Linked DNA regions of Homo sapiens: regions 2, 3 and 4 are each linked to region 1. Evidence: promoter capture Hi-C in 16 types of primary human blood cells and fetal thymus (Javierre and others, 2016). All regions are on one chromosome and are shown on one strand. Each heading gives the region's core, a stretch centred on a gene start or on the middle of the fragment in contact. The rest is flanking DNA. Distances are from core to core; before and after follow the strand shown.

Region 1 (3,522 bases), core at 704-3,203:
CCGCCACCATGCCCGGTTAATTTTTGTATTTTTAGTAGAGATGAGGTTTCACCATATTGGCCAGGCTGGTCTCGAACTCCTGACCTTGTGATCCGCCCGCCTTGGCTTCCCAAAGTGCTGGGATTACAGGCGTGAGCCACCGTGCCCGCCCCCCCCGGCTCTGGTTTTTTTTTTTTTTTTTTTTTTTAGACAGAGTCTCCCTCTGTCGCCCAGGCTGGAGTGCAGCGGCGCCATCTTGGCTCACTGCAACCTCCACCTCCTGGGTTCAAGCAATTCTCCTGCCTCAGCCTCCCGAGTAGCTGGGACTACAGGCACACGCCACTACGCCCGGCTAATTTTTGTATTTTTAGTAGAGACGGGGTTTCACCAGACGGGGTTTCACTGTGTTGAGCAGGATGGTCTCGATCTCCTGACCTCATGATCCTACCGCCTCGGCCTCCCAAAGTGCTGGGATGACAGCCGTGAGCCACCGCGCCCGGCCCTGCATGCCCTTTATGACATACCTTTTAGGCCAGGCGCGGTGGCTCATGCCTGTCATCCCAGCACTTTGGGAGGCCGAGGCGGGCAGATCACCTGAGGTCAGGAGATCGAGACCAGCCTGCCCAACATGGTGAAACCCCGTCTCTACTAAAAATACAAAAATTAGCCGGGCGTAGTGGCAGGCGCCTGCAGTCCCAGCTACTCTGGAGGCTGAGGCAGGATAATCACTTGAACCCGGGAGGCGGAGGTTGCAGTGAGCCGAGATGGCACTGCTGCACTCCAGCCTGGGCGACAAGAGCAAAAACTCCATCAAAAAAAAAAAAAAAAAAAAAAGATATACCTTTTTGATCTCAAGAAAGTCACAGTTCAAATAGGGAAACAATACACAATTAACTATTTTACTAAGTACTTGTGCAATTTTAGAGCCATATGTGAAAGTCTTAAGAAAACACAGAAGCAGCCTGGGGTGCGGTGGGTCCTGCCTGTAATCCCAGCACCTTGAGAGGCTGAGGCAGGATGATCGCTTGGGCCCAGGAGTTCAAGACCAGCCTGGGCGACATAGCAAGACCCCATTTCTACAAAAGTAAAAAAAAAAAAAAATAGGTGGGCATGGTGGTGCTTGCTTGTAGTTCCAGCTACTCAGGAAGGAGGCTGAGGCAGGAGGATCGCTTGAGCCCAGGAAGTCAAGGTTGCAAAGTTGCAAGGTTGCAGTGAGTTATGATTGTGCCACTGCAGCCTGAGTGACATAGCGAGACCCTGTGAAAGAAAAAGAAAGAAAGAAAGAAAGAAAGAAAGAAAGAAAGAAAGAAAGAAAGAAAGAAAGAAAGAAAGAGCACAGAAGAGGATTGGGAGGTTATGGGGTACAATTCTTGAGGGGGTGACCCTGGCCAGGCGATGAGAGGGCGGTAGGAAGGGTGATGAGGGGAGAAGAGGATTTAGAAATACAAATTTCAGGGTCTTCTTGTGTCAGCGGGAATTTCTGTCCCTCACAACTTTCATCATAAGATAAATCTAATGTTCAACTAGAGATCTCTCCCGCGCCTTGAACTTGCAAATTTATGAATCAGGGGCAAAAAAAACCCGGATACCGAGCCTGGCCTCCCACCAGCTAGAGAACCCACCAAGTTCCAGGAGGGGCGGGGCCGAGGGCGGTCCGTGCCACAGCTGTGGGCGGGGTTGTCCGTGCTTGCGCCAGAGCCGGCCCGCCCCGCCGCCAGGGGCTGTCGCAGGAGCCAGGCGTGGATTGGTATGTGGGTATGTCGGCCTCTCTTCATAGGCCGCGCAGGATTGCTCGAGAGGCTTTGATTGGCTCAACAGGCGCTGAGCGTTCATTGGCTGCGCTGGGTCGTCAGGGCGACGAAAAAGGGGAAGGGGTGCTGGGCCTGGCGGGCAAACTAAGGCTGCGGACCGTTGGGCGGTTCCGCGGGGCGTTGTCCGGAGAGCTGCGAGGCCGGGGTTCCCAGGGTTCACGCCACACTCTAGGAAGTGCCTGAGCTAGTGAGCTGGCCAACGAGCTCCGCGGGCTGGGACCATGGGCTGCTTCTTCTCCAAGAGACGGAAGGCTGACAAGGAGTCGCGGCCCGAGAACGAGGAGGAGCGGCCAAAGCAGTACAGCTGGGATCAGCGCGAGAAGGTAATGAAAGTCGTGTAGCCGCCGTCTCAGCCTCCCTGAGCCGCTCCGCCAGGTCCCTTACGGCCCGGGACCGCTGAGGGGGCCGACCCAACTGCTGCCGCACTCTCTTGAACGCGGATAGCTGAAGTCGGGGTGCACGACTTTTTTGGGGAGCGGGGACGTGAAGTACAGCGCTAGAGAGGCCGCCCAGAGGGCTGTGGAGCTCCGGAAGGAGCCTTAGGAGTTTGTTGTCGTGGTAGACAGACTCCCCCGGGAGCTTTCTCTGACTCCGAACCCTGCCTTGCTCTGACTTCCTGTTGGAGATGATCGATTCGAGAGAGGGAAAGAGCCGAGAACGCCCTGAATCTCAAATCACCTCGTTTCACCCACCGGCAGCGTCAAGCGGGGTTTTGTCCAGTCGTCGAGTTACGTATATGGGACCGATTCTCATCTCTTCCGGGGCTTAATGTTCTGTGGCTGTTTTCTCTTTTGTCTGCCCTCCCCGGCAAATCTCTTTGGTGCCTCATGATATATTTCACTGCTGAATTTTCTCAATTACCAAGTGGACTGTTTAATGTACAGCTTTACTCCCCCTCCTCTTCCAGTTATCCGAAAGAAATAATGAATATCGCATCAGTCTTGGAATGTGTATTAAGACTGTAAGGTGAAAATAAGCGGCATAAACCAGGCAGTATTTTACTGCTGGTTTAAATGAATGAAAACGCCCTTATTTTTATTTTTGTATATAGCCAGAAACGAAAAACCTTTGAAAACCTCCATTAGTCTTACACAAAACACACTCGGTCATACATTTCATAATAGTTCCTCTTTCTACATAGTTCTCCATTTGTGCTTACTAAACTACTTTGATGGACTTATCAATTATTTCTCCCAAACAAAATGAGAGATTTTTCAAATGGGTATTATGAACAGTTAACTCTTTGCTTAAGGCAACATATCTTTACCCAAGATTACTTTATAATAAATGTATTAACGTTTTGGAATCACAGACCTTTCTGCATGATTTCCAATCCCCAGCAGAATGTATTCAGGTAAGCTCTGGTCTCTAAGAGTCAGAGTTAGGAAATTGAAAGCTTTTTGCAGCTTTTCTCAGCCCCGTCTTTCTGCCCCTACTTCTCATACACACCCTTCTTGGGTCACATGGTACCTTTATTCTCTGTTAGTCATACTCGATAGTAGCATTTTATAATGTAGGGGAAGAAAGTACTATGCTTTCTATTTCACAAGAAGATTGCACCTGCCATTTAAAGTTATCTGATGGGCGGTTTTTAAAAGATATTGTTTTCCTCAGCCTTTGGCTTTCTAACAATGTTCTTTTAGCTTGAATTGTCTGCCTTAGAGAAAGTTGCATATTTCATTTTTATTTTAGTTTTTTCTTTTGAACTCAGGCTAAATCTAAACTAAATAAA
Region 2 (3,522 bases), core at 425-2,924, 290 kb before region 1:
ATCACTGTGATACCATCAGGACAACAGGGTTCAGCTCCGTGTAGCTTAGCAGGTCATGTCCCCTGGCCCACTTTCATTAAGCATTGAAATAAGGCAGCAGAGCTGGATGACAGCATACCTAGAGACTACTCTGAAATTCTATAAACTAAAAATATATTTTCTGCACTTTGGTCAGGATGAACGGACACTCAGCATTTCCCCTGGAAGCAGGTGCCTGGTTGATGGTGTGGGGCTGACTCAAATTCAGAAATAGCCAATGGCAAGAGAAGGAAGCATGGGGGTGCACAAATAGGTGTGCTAGGAGAGGCCAATCCTCTGTGGCTGGCTGTGATCCTTCCCAGCCTCATCCCGCCTTTGCAGGTACTACAGCAGGGCACCTGCCCCCATGGGGGACATCCATGCCTCCATCCACCTGTGACTTTCACCTGTCCCTCCTCCAGCAGGAATCAAACTGCACTGTCACATGGTCCTCCATGGCACCTGGAAGTAGAGCCAGCTTTGCTCTGTCTCAGCTGAAGTGAGGGACAAAGGCCACTACGGGTCCAGCTCTTCTAGGACCTGCTGTCCCGTGAGCCTCCTTTGCTCTGAGGATCTGGGTCTGGGCTCTTGCTGAGGCTTCTCCTCCAACTCGCCTCAGCTCAGCGTACCTCTCTTGTGTCCAAGGCGGCAGGACCAAGGGATTCAGAGACAAACACACCCCAGTTGGGGCCATCACTATAGCACTAGATCTCTGCCTGTGACCCAGGGAACTCACCTCTTCCTGGGGCCTCAGCCTAAGTCTTCTGCGACTAAGTGGGGAAGCCGAGGCACAGATAAACTGGAGTCTGAAATCGGTGAGCAGTGGTCTCAGGTCTGCACTCTGACCCTGGAAACACAATGACCACAGGAGATTCAATTAGCAACACCTATGCTCCCTTCCATGCAGTGAAGTTGAGTGAAACCCAAAGGTTTTTACCCAACAGAAGAGGGACAACCCCTCATTCTAGTTTTAAGAGTTAACATTCATGCACAGCTCAATTATCCTCAGTGAGCGAAACCCTGCCTTCCTGAGTCCGGGCTTTGGAATCAACTGACTGGCTGCTGTGCCACTTTTATTCACTGAAGAAATGATTGCCTTCCATGAGCCGGTTCTCCGTGTTGCAAATCCATCAGTGAACAAAATCTCAAATTCCCAGCTCCAGATTTCTAGTCTGGAGGAAGAGACACACTGGAAACAATAAACATGATAAACAAAGTACAGGAAAAGAAAAAGAAAAAGGATTCCTCGGGTTTGCTACCTACGGGACTTTGGACAGGTTGCCAAGCCACACTGTACCGTTTTCTCTCTATAACATGAAAATAATCATCGTAACACCTCACAGGGCTCCTGCTAATGTGAAACATTTGCAAGAGTGTCTGGCAGTTACCACCGGGTGAGGATACAAGCGCTGAGTGACTCAATCAATTAGTCACTCGCTGGCCCCGAACCTCGCCCCCAACACTCACGCCCACCGCCTGTGTCACTCAATCCCCACAAGGACGCTCACCCGTGGCCCCATGACCCCACGGCCCCGTAAACTCCCGTCATTCCTCCCGTCCCCCCTTCCCCCGATCAAAACCATCACCACCTCACCCTCCCGCTTACTTCACTGCCGACAGCCTGAAACCTCAGGGGCGGATGACAACAGCCAGTGTGAACGAAGCGCCACCCTCCGGGTCAGCCGAGCATTTCCGCTTCCCACAGCCCCCTGGGAACGTGAAGTCAAAGCAATGCGCACGCGCAGTGGCTTTGAAGGCGGGGCAACAAAGCCTGTGGCCGATGTGGCGCTCCTCGGCCCGCGCTTCAGTGGTTATGACAGTGTTCGCTCTAAGGGGAGAAGGAATGTGTGACCATTTCCAACGGTAAGTCGTACAAAAGGTCCGGGGAGGCGTACCTGGGCGGCGAGAGGCGAGAGAACTCCGCGCGGGCTTTCCAGTGCCCAGGCCCCTGCCGGCTCCGAAGCCGAAATCCCTTCTTCCACTTCGTTCTCTTGCAGTGGACGTGGGGTGTTCCCACCCCTCTGTCCCCAAGGCCACTGTTTCTGTCTTCCGCTCCTAGGAATAGGAAAAAGAGTCGCGCCTCTGGCATCTGTGGCAGCTCCAGAGCGCGGCCCTCTAGGGTCCAGGCAGGCCACATGGAGCGGGGCCCTAGGCCTGGCTCAGAGCGTCCTAAGAGCAACAGGTCTGGCTCAGTCGGGGAAGTGGCCTGGAAGAGGGGCTTTGGAGCCGGGCTTCAGAGCCAGCAACCTCCCGAAGTGAGGGAAGAAAGCCTCATTCTGATTGTTCTCTACCCAGTGGTGGGGCTCCGGTTCCTAGGATCTTAGACACCCTGGGAGAATCTGGATTTTACTTTTTAGCGGAGAGGTGTTTTCTCTGAGAATGCCAGCCAGTGGCAACATGGCCCGCTAAAAAGGCCTGTAGTAAACTTGAGGAAAGTTTTCTGTTTCCTGTCTGGGTCTGGGAGAAAGAGAACAAGTGTTGTTCTCCATGCTTACTATGCCTGCCTGGTCACCAAGCGGGCCTCTTTGGGTCAAGTATGACAGAGTCTCCCTCAGGTACACAGCAAACCCTTCTGTGCTAGAGCCAGCTGGTGCCAGACACTGTTCATAGATGTGTCCAAGACATTTGTGTAATCTATCAGACACGTATTTAATTTCCATTTGAACATGAGTGTTTTTCCTCTTTCTCTTTCTCCTCTCAGGTTAACTTGCATTCCCCAGATAGTTTGGATGAGTTACAACCTAAATCTGCAAACTCAATACAGCCAGACCCTGGGAAGTGACTCTCTCCAAGCCTCCTGTACAAGTCCCAGGAAAAGAGCCTGTTTTCCCTTGGACATGTGAGCAGTGAATTACTGCTCATTCAGAATTTCATGTGTATGTGTTACTGATGGCCAGGTTTAGAGATACCAACCTATTTATTTCTAGAGGAGAGGTGATTTGATAACCTTTTCAGATATCACTATCAGTAGGCAGAAAAGGGTTAATAGTATGATAGGGTTAATATGTCCTGAGGAGAGTAAAGAAATTGCAAACTGCAGAAGCACCTGATCTGTGGCCCTGGCCAGCATCTCTCCATATCCTGATTCTGTAAGATCAAGTGTTTATGCAGAAAGAGAAGGGACTGATGATTTGAATGTGACCAGATGCAGGGCATGCCCTTATTGCCATGCCAGCATTTGCTATTCATGATGTTAGTATTCAAAAATCAAGAAACACCCTTCCTGGGCCATTGGTGTCTACTAATCCATTGGAAGAAAAGACTGGAATCCACCACTTACTAGCTTCTTGGGCCTCAGTCCCCTCTTTTCTGCCATAGCTAAGGACCACCTAACCTAGATGGCTGTTGTTATTGTTCAAAGGGACATCTTTAGAGCCTCAAGCCCAGGAATAGCCCGTGGCAGGCACCTGGTAAATGTTAGTTTTCATTGTCCTATCCCAACACTATGAAACATGCAGCACTCTCTGCAACTGCCCCTGTGGATTTCCATAGGCAGGAGAGTAT
Region 3 (3,522 bases), core at 267-2,766, 270 kb before region 1:
AAGCTCAAATGTAAAGTGCTTCTTCCCAGCAGTCAATCAGACAACAAATGCTTGTTGAGCACCTACTATGTGCTTGACACCATGATAAGGTCTGGCATTCAAGACCTCTAACAACATAATTTTCAAACCTTAATGATTTGCATCATTATCCAAAGACCAATTGGAAGCCAAGACAGATTCTGAGCAGAGAAATGGCATTGACCGAAATCTATCACTGATTAAAAATTAGGCCGGGTGCAGTGGCTCATGCCTTTAATCTCAGCACTTTGGAAGGTCGAAACAGGCAGACCGCTTGAGCCCAGGAGTTCAAGACCAGCCTGGGCCACATGGTGAAATCTTGTCTCTACAAAAAAAGTAGCCAGGCGTGGTGGTGTGCGCCTGTAATCCCAGCTACTCGGGAGGCTGAGGAGAGAGGATCACTTGAGCCTGAGAGGCAGAGGTTTCAGTGAGCTGAGATCACACCACTGCGCTCCATGCTTGGCGACAGAGTGAGTCACAGTCTCAAAAAAAAAAAAAAAAATTAAAAGAGGGCAAAATAGAAACAGAGACTGGCTAGGCAGTTTCTACAGTGCTCTAGGGGACAGTTGGTCCTCTGAGCTAGGGTAGTAGCAATGGCAATGAAGATAAGTGAATGATTTGAAAGGACATTTAGGAGGTAAAACCCACCTGACTTGATGATAGATTGGATTGAAGAAGAGGGACTGAGGAAGAGGGAGATACCCAGAATGGCTCCTAAGTTTCTGACTGCATAATAGAATAGATAGTTTTATCATTCACATATTAAAATTGATATGCCATTGAGGCAACCAAGAGGGAATGTCAAGTGGGCAACTGGATTTCTAGGTGTGGAGCCCCAAGGAGAGGCTGGGGCTGGAAATGTCAATTTGGAGTCATTGAAGAGATCATAAAGTGAAAAGGAAGAGGGCCTGGGGAATCAGCTTCCCACAGCAGCAACAATGTACCGACTCATAAGACTTAAAGCTTACTCTATGGGATACACTGTTCTGGGATTATACACACACACACACACACACACACACACACACACACACCACACCCAGTTGTGCATTGTTTAATGATGGGGATGCATTCCAAGGAATGCGTTGTTAGGCGATTTCATCATTGTGCAAACATCATAAAGTGTACTTACATAAACCTAGATGGGATAGCCTATTACACACCTAGGCTATATGTACAGCATGTTACTGTACTGAATACTGTAGACAGTTGTAACATGAGATCATATTTGCGCATCTAAACATATCATCTAATCATAGAAAAGGTACAATAAAAATAAGGTATTAGAATCTTATGGGACCTCCCTTGTATATGCAGCTCATCATTGACAAAACATCAGGTGGCACATGACTGCATATATATATATATATATATATATATATATATATATATATATATAATTTAATTCTTACAACAACCCTGCAGGATAGGGGAGGATAGGTACTATTAGAACTAATGTTTGATAAATGAGGCACAGAGAGGTTCACTTACTTGCCCAAGGCCATAGAGCTGAAGTGGTGGAGCTGGCCTATGAACTTGGGTGGCCTCACTCCAAAGGATAAAGGATATCAACTTGGGTGGCCTGACTCCAAAGGTCAATCTCTCAAATGCTATGCTCTGAAGGTGTAGCTATGAACTAGGAGAACAGTTCACATGTGATGTCATAGAAGTTGGCAGAAGAGATGATTTGAAGGTGGGAACTGTCAACAGTGTTAAATGTTATTGATACATATGTACACTTACAATGTGTCAGTTAAAAATGTTATTGAAAGGTCAAGTAAGGTGAGCCATGAAAGTGTCCTGGATTCAGTAACATGGCACCAGGCATGGTGGCTCACATTTGTTATCCCAGCACTTTGAGAGGCCAACATAGGAGGACTGCTTGAGCCCAGGAATTGGAGACCAGTCTGGAATACATAGGAAGACTCCGTATCTACACAAATTAAAAATAAAAAAGTTAGCTGGGAGTGGTGGTGTGAATCTGTGATCCTAGCTAAACTCAAAAAAAAAAAAAAAACCATGGAAGCCATTGATAAGCTTAGAAAGAACTGATGATGTGGCAATATGGGGGCAGAACTCAGATTGGAGTGTGCTGAGGAATTGTTCCTGGACCAAGCCGAGGGTCGGACTGCTTATTCTCTCAGCCCAATTACAAGATGCAGGTGAACTGGGAAAGAAGAGAGTTTTTATTTCTGTAACCAGGTGCAGGGAGAAGGCCTGGAAATTATCACCAGACCAACTCAAAATTACAAAGTTTTCCAGAGCTTACATACCTTCTAAGCTACATGTCTACGTGTAAGTGTGCATTCATCTAAAGACATAAGTGATTAACTTCTTCTAATCTATAACTAAGGTCTGAGTCCTGAAGACCTTCCTCTGGAGCCTCAGTAAATTTACTTAATCTAAATGGATCCAGGTGCTGGGGTGATTGCCCTTATCTTATCTCCTGCTAAATCATGGAGGTTTGGGGAGTTCCTTCAGACCACTAATAACATGTGCTTAATCTTTTTAAATTTTATTTTATTTTTTTGAGACACAGTCTCACTCATTGCCCAGGCTGGAGTGCAGTGGCTCAATCTCGGCTCACTGCAACCTCCGCCTTCCAGGTTCAAGTGATTCTCCTGCCTCAGCCTCCCAAGTAGCTGGGATTACAGGTGCATGCCACGCCCGGCTAATTTTTGTATTTTTAGTAGAGACGAGTTTTCACCATGTTGGCCAAGCTGGTCTCGAACTCCTGACCTCAAGTGATCTGCCTGCCTCGGCCTCCCAAAGTGCTGGGATTACAGGCATGAACCACTGCACCCAGAGAAACTTGTTTAATCTTAAATGGGTCCTGTTAAGAACTCCTTCCTTCTCTTGTCACGCTTCAAGGCCCAGGAAAGACCTAGGCAAAACTCTTGGTGTGCTTTTGTTACCTTCCAGCCTTTGTATAAGGGCACTGGCTCTCTTAGCTTTTAATAGTTAGCTTAACCACTCAGTGCTGAAACAGTTGTTAGGGAGGCCTGCCTGTTCAGCCGTTAGGGAGACCTGGCCTGCCACAGAATGAGTAGGAGATGAGAGCACAGAGAGAACTAGTATAGACAGCTCTACTAAGAAGCTGGGCTGTGAGGAGTGGGTAGAGAAACCAGTGGCAACAGGACAAGGGTAGGAGAAGGGCAGAGTGAGGGTACCTGGCAGAAAGATGCAACAGCGGGCTAGAATCTGGCCAGGTTCTGCCTTCAAGCTGTTAACCTTGGACTGGGGCTGTGGCCTGAAGGAAGGGGTACTTATTTGAATGGGGTCAGCCCCCTTGCAATTCATCTGTCTGGAGGGGGCACTTTCTGATTCTCACAAGGGTACTGTATGTGTTAGCAGCAGCTATGCTAAAGGAGGATGCAAATAAATGGGACTTTAAAGAGAGAGAGATAGAGGAAGAAACAGAGAAAGAGATCAAACTGTTTAATTTTCACATCAGTGGAAATAATCTGGTTGAGAGGGTGTAGTTGAATAGGGAGGAGAAATGGT
Region 4 (3,522 bases), core at 308-2,807, 260 kb after region 1:
CCAGTCAGGTAATTCCTTTTTATGATAGGAGATAAAACAAAGATAATAGGTGGCTAAGTATATTACTACAAATCATAAAAATGCTTTTGAAGAATACTTGTGAATTACCTTTCACCTGAGATTCCCTCTTTTCTTTTTCAACAGATAACTGGTCTGGGGGTCAAAGGAATTGCTCCCTACTCCTATGCGGGATGAGGACAGGTCTTCTTTCCTGCCAGAGGGAGCTCTGAAGACAACTAGAGAATTCTGGGCCTGAAATTTCAATCTAGTTAGAAAGAAAAATGAGGCAATGATTTTATTAACAGCGTTAAGTTTTAATTTACAACTTTTAAAAGGCAGAGCATTTTTAACAAGGGGTGACAGGTGGTTTTGATAACACACTTATAAGGCTTTCTGTAAAAGGTACTATAGAAGGGCGAAGAATCGTTCAACTGTCAATCAGCCTCTTGATTCTTTGTAAATTGCCAGGGTGGGTGGGTACATATCTCTTCTTGATTCTGCATTTCATACTTAACTATATTAAAGCTTCAAGGAACAATAAATAGTAACCTGGTAATGACCTATTATGTTCCTTTTTATTTTCATCACAATCTTATAAAATATACCACAATGCTAACTAACCTACATAGATATTTCATCTCCTATATGTTATTTTACAAACTAAAATACGGCTGGAGGGTTAGACTCAAACATGCTGTCAAAATCCATGGTTCCAGCTGCCACCTACTGGATGTAAAAGTAATATGTCTCTTTGGAAAGAATACTTATTTTAAAAATAGCTTTATTGAGTTATAATTGGCCTGTACATATTTAAAGTGTATAATTTGACAAATTTGTCACATATATACATTCATGAAACCAACACCACAAACAAGATAATGAATCTATCCACTACCCCAAAACTTTTCTTGTCCTGTCATAATCCTTTTCTTCAGCCCCTCTGCCTGCCTGTCCCCTGCTCCCAGGAAACCACTGATCTGCTTTCTGTCACTATAAATTAGTCTTAAAATTAGGTAGTGTGATTTCTGTAACTTTGCTCTTTTTCAAAATTGTTTTGGCTATTTTAATTCCTTTGACCTTCCATATAAATTTTCAAATCAGCTTGACGATATCTACAAAAGAAATCAAGCTACAATTTTTTAATTGGAATTGCTTTTTTTTTTTTAGACAGGATCTACTCTGTCACCCAGGTCGGAGTGCAGGGGCACGATCATGGTTCATTGCTGCCTCTACCTCCCAGGCTGAAGCAACCCTCCCACGTCAGTCTCCCGAGTAGCTGGGCTGAGACTGCAGGTGCGTGCCACTATGGTCATTTTTTCGTTTGTTTGGTTGGTTGGTTTTTTGGATTTTTTGCTTTTCAGAGACGAAGTCTTGTTATGCTGCCCAGGCTGGCCTCAAACTCCTGGTGATCCTCCCGCCTTGACTTCCCAAAGCTCTGGGATTACAGGAATGAGCCACCGCGCCAGGCCTGAAATTGCTTTAAATCTGTAAAACGATTTGGAGATAATTGACTTCTTTACTATTCTGAGTCTTATCCATGAACAGGGCATGTCTCTCCCGTTATTTAGGCCTTCTTCAATTTTTGTCATCAGTGTTTTGTAGGTTTCAGCATACAGATCTTGTACATGTTTTGTTAGATTTATATCCAAGTATTTCACTTTTGGGAGCTATTGTAAATGTTATTATTATTATTATTTGAGACAGGGTCTTGCTCTATGGGCCAGGCTAGAGTGAAGTGGCACGATCATAGCTCACTGCAACCTTGCACTCCTGTATTCAAGCGATCCACACACCTCAGCCTCCCAAAGTGCTGGGATTACAGGCGTGAGCCACCACACCCAACCTTATTATTATTTTTTGGATTTGTTTCCAGTTGATCATTGCTTGTTTATAGAAGTGTGATTGGCGTTTATAGGTTGACTTTGTATCTGATGAGTTTGCTAACCTCACTAATTGGTTCTAAGAGTATTTCTGTAGCTTCTCTGAGATTCTTTGGGTGTATAATCATGTCTTCTGTGAATAGAGACAATTTTCTTTCTTTCTTTCCAGTTTGTATGTTTTTATTTTTCTTGCATTATTACACTGGCTAAAATTGCCACTATTATGTTGAATGGAAATAGTAAGAGTAGACAGCCTTGTCTTGTTCCCAATCTCAAGAGAAAAGCATGCAGTCTTTTATTATTAAATATGATATTAGTTATATGTATTTTTGTGGATGGCCTTTCTCAAATTGAGGAAGTTCCCTTCTCATTTACTTTTCTGCATGTATTAATGTGATTATGTGGTTTTCCTTCTTTAGACTGTTAATATGATCAATTCTTGCATTCCTGAGATAAACCTCCCTTGGTCATGACATATTACTACTTTTATGTGTTGCTGAATTCCATTTTCTAATATTTTGTTGAGGATTTTTGCAGCTACTATCTTTTGTCTGTGGTTGACATCAGGGTAATTCTGGCCTTATAAAATGAATTGGAAAGTATTCCTTCTTCTACTATCTGGAAAAGAAAATGTATAATTATTATTCTTCTTTAAATATTTGGCAAAATTCATCAGCGAAAACATTTGGACCCGGAGATTTCTTTTTCAGAAGCTTTTTAACATTCCTTAATAATGACAAGGCCACTTGGTTGCCTTACTTAATTTTGGTGAGGTCTGTTAGTTTGCGGCTTCCAAGGAATTGATCCTTTTCATCTAAGTTGTCAAATTTATGTATGTAGAGTTATTAATAGTATTTCCTTATTATCCTTTTAATAATGCCTGAGAGGTTTGTAGTGATATCCCCTTTTTTACCTGCTATTGGTTATTTGTGTCTTTTTTCTTTGTCAGTCTTGCTAGAGGTTTATCAGTTGCATTGATCTTTCAAAGACCTAGCTTTTGATTTCATTTTTTGGTTGTCAATTTCATTGATTTATCCTTTTATCTTTGTTATTCCTTCCTTCTGCTTTATTCTGATTTATTTTGCTCTTTTTCTAGTTTCTTAAATTGGAATCTCAGATTATGGATTTGAGACATTTCTTCTGTTCTAAAATAACATTTAATGCTATACATTTTCCTCTCAGTACTGCTCTTTCTGCAGCCCACAAAGTCTGATATATTGTATTTTCATTTTTGTTAAATTAAAAATATTTTCTAATTTCCTTGGAGACATTTTCTTTGACCCATGGATTATTTAGAAGTGTGTTTAATTTCTAAATGATTGGAGATTTTATTATTATCTTTTTGGGTATTGATTTCAGATTTAATTCTATTATGGTCAGAGAGCATATTTTTTATTTCAGTTCTTTGAAATTCAAGTTGGATTTGTTTTTTGTTTTTGTTTTGAGATGGAGTCTCTCACTCTGTTGCCCAGGCTGGAGTGCAGTGGTGTGATCTCAGCTCACTTCAACCTCCACCTCCCGGGTTCAAGTGATTCTCCCACCTCAGCCTCCTGAGTAGCTGGGATTACAGGTGCCCACCACCAAGCCCAGCTAATTTTTGTATTTTTAGTAGAGATGGGGTTTCGCCATGTTGACTAGGCTG

What was found. The method cuts DNA at HindIII sites, captures the fragments that hold promoters and counts their contacts. A CHiCAGO score of 5 or more calls a contact.
Region 2: the fragment with the promoter of ZNF674 here is called in contact with the fragment with the promoter of RP2 in region 1 in 1 of 17 cell types (neutrophils); the score reaches 5.6 in neutrophils.
Region 3: a fragment that was not itself captured here is called in contact with the fragment with the promoter of RP2 in region 1 in 1 of 17 cell types (monocytes); the score reaches 5.7 in monocytes.
Region 4: a contact is called between a fragment that was not itself captured here and the fragment with the promoter of RP2 in region 1, in 2 of 17 cell types (erythroblasts and fetal thymus). The highest score is 6.2, in erythroblasts.

What each region holds. Positions count from the first base shown.
Region 1 is chrX:46,835,090-46,838,611 of GRCh38, forward strand. It overlaps RP2 (RP2 activator of ARL3 GTPase), which reads left to right and starts at 1,954. Exons shown (of 5, transcript NM_006915.3): 1 at 1,954-2,113. The coding sequence starts at 2,012. RefSeq lists a silencer at 1,556-1,635 and an enhancer at 1,946-2,085. The HindIII fragment of the contact is 11,862 bases long and covers 1-3,184 here.
Region 2 is chrX:46,543,747-46,547,268 of GRCh38, forward strand. It overlaps ZNF674 (zinc finger protein 674), which reads right to left and starts at 1,675. Exons shown (of 6, transcript NM_001190417.2): 1 at 1,625-1,675; 2 at 755-865. ZNF674-AS1 (ZNF674 antisense RNA 1) reads left to right here and starts at 1,744. Exons shown (of 2, transcript NR_015378.3): 1 at 1,744-1,881; 2 at 2,720-3,522. RefSeq lists enhancers at 1,049-2,248, 1,864-2,013. The HindIII fragment of the contact is 22,375 bases long and covers 1-3,522 here.
Region 3 is chrX:46,565,950-46,569,471 of GRCh38, forward strand. No RefSeq gene overlaps it. Among named protein-coding and RNA genes, the nearest start is that of CHST7, 6.1 kb to the right of the region's middle. The HindIII fragment of the contact is 1,074 bases long and covers 980-2,053 here.
Region 4 is chrX:47,092,753-47,096,274 of GRCh38, forward strand. RGN (regucalcin) reads left to right here. Exons shown (of 8, transcript NM_152869.4): 8 at 145-561. The coding sequence ends at 195. Among named protein-coding and RNA genes, the nearest start is that of RGN, 16 kb to the left of the region's middle. The HindIII fragment of the contact is 2,068 bases long and covers 524-2,591 here.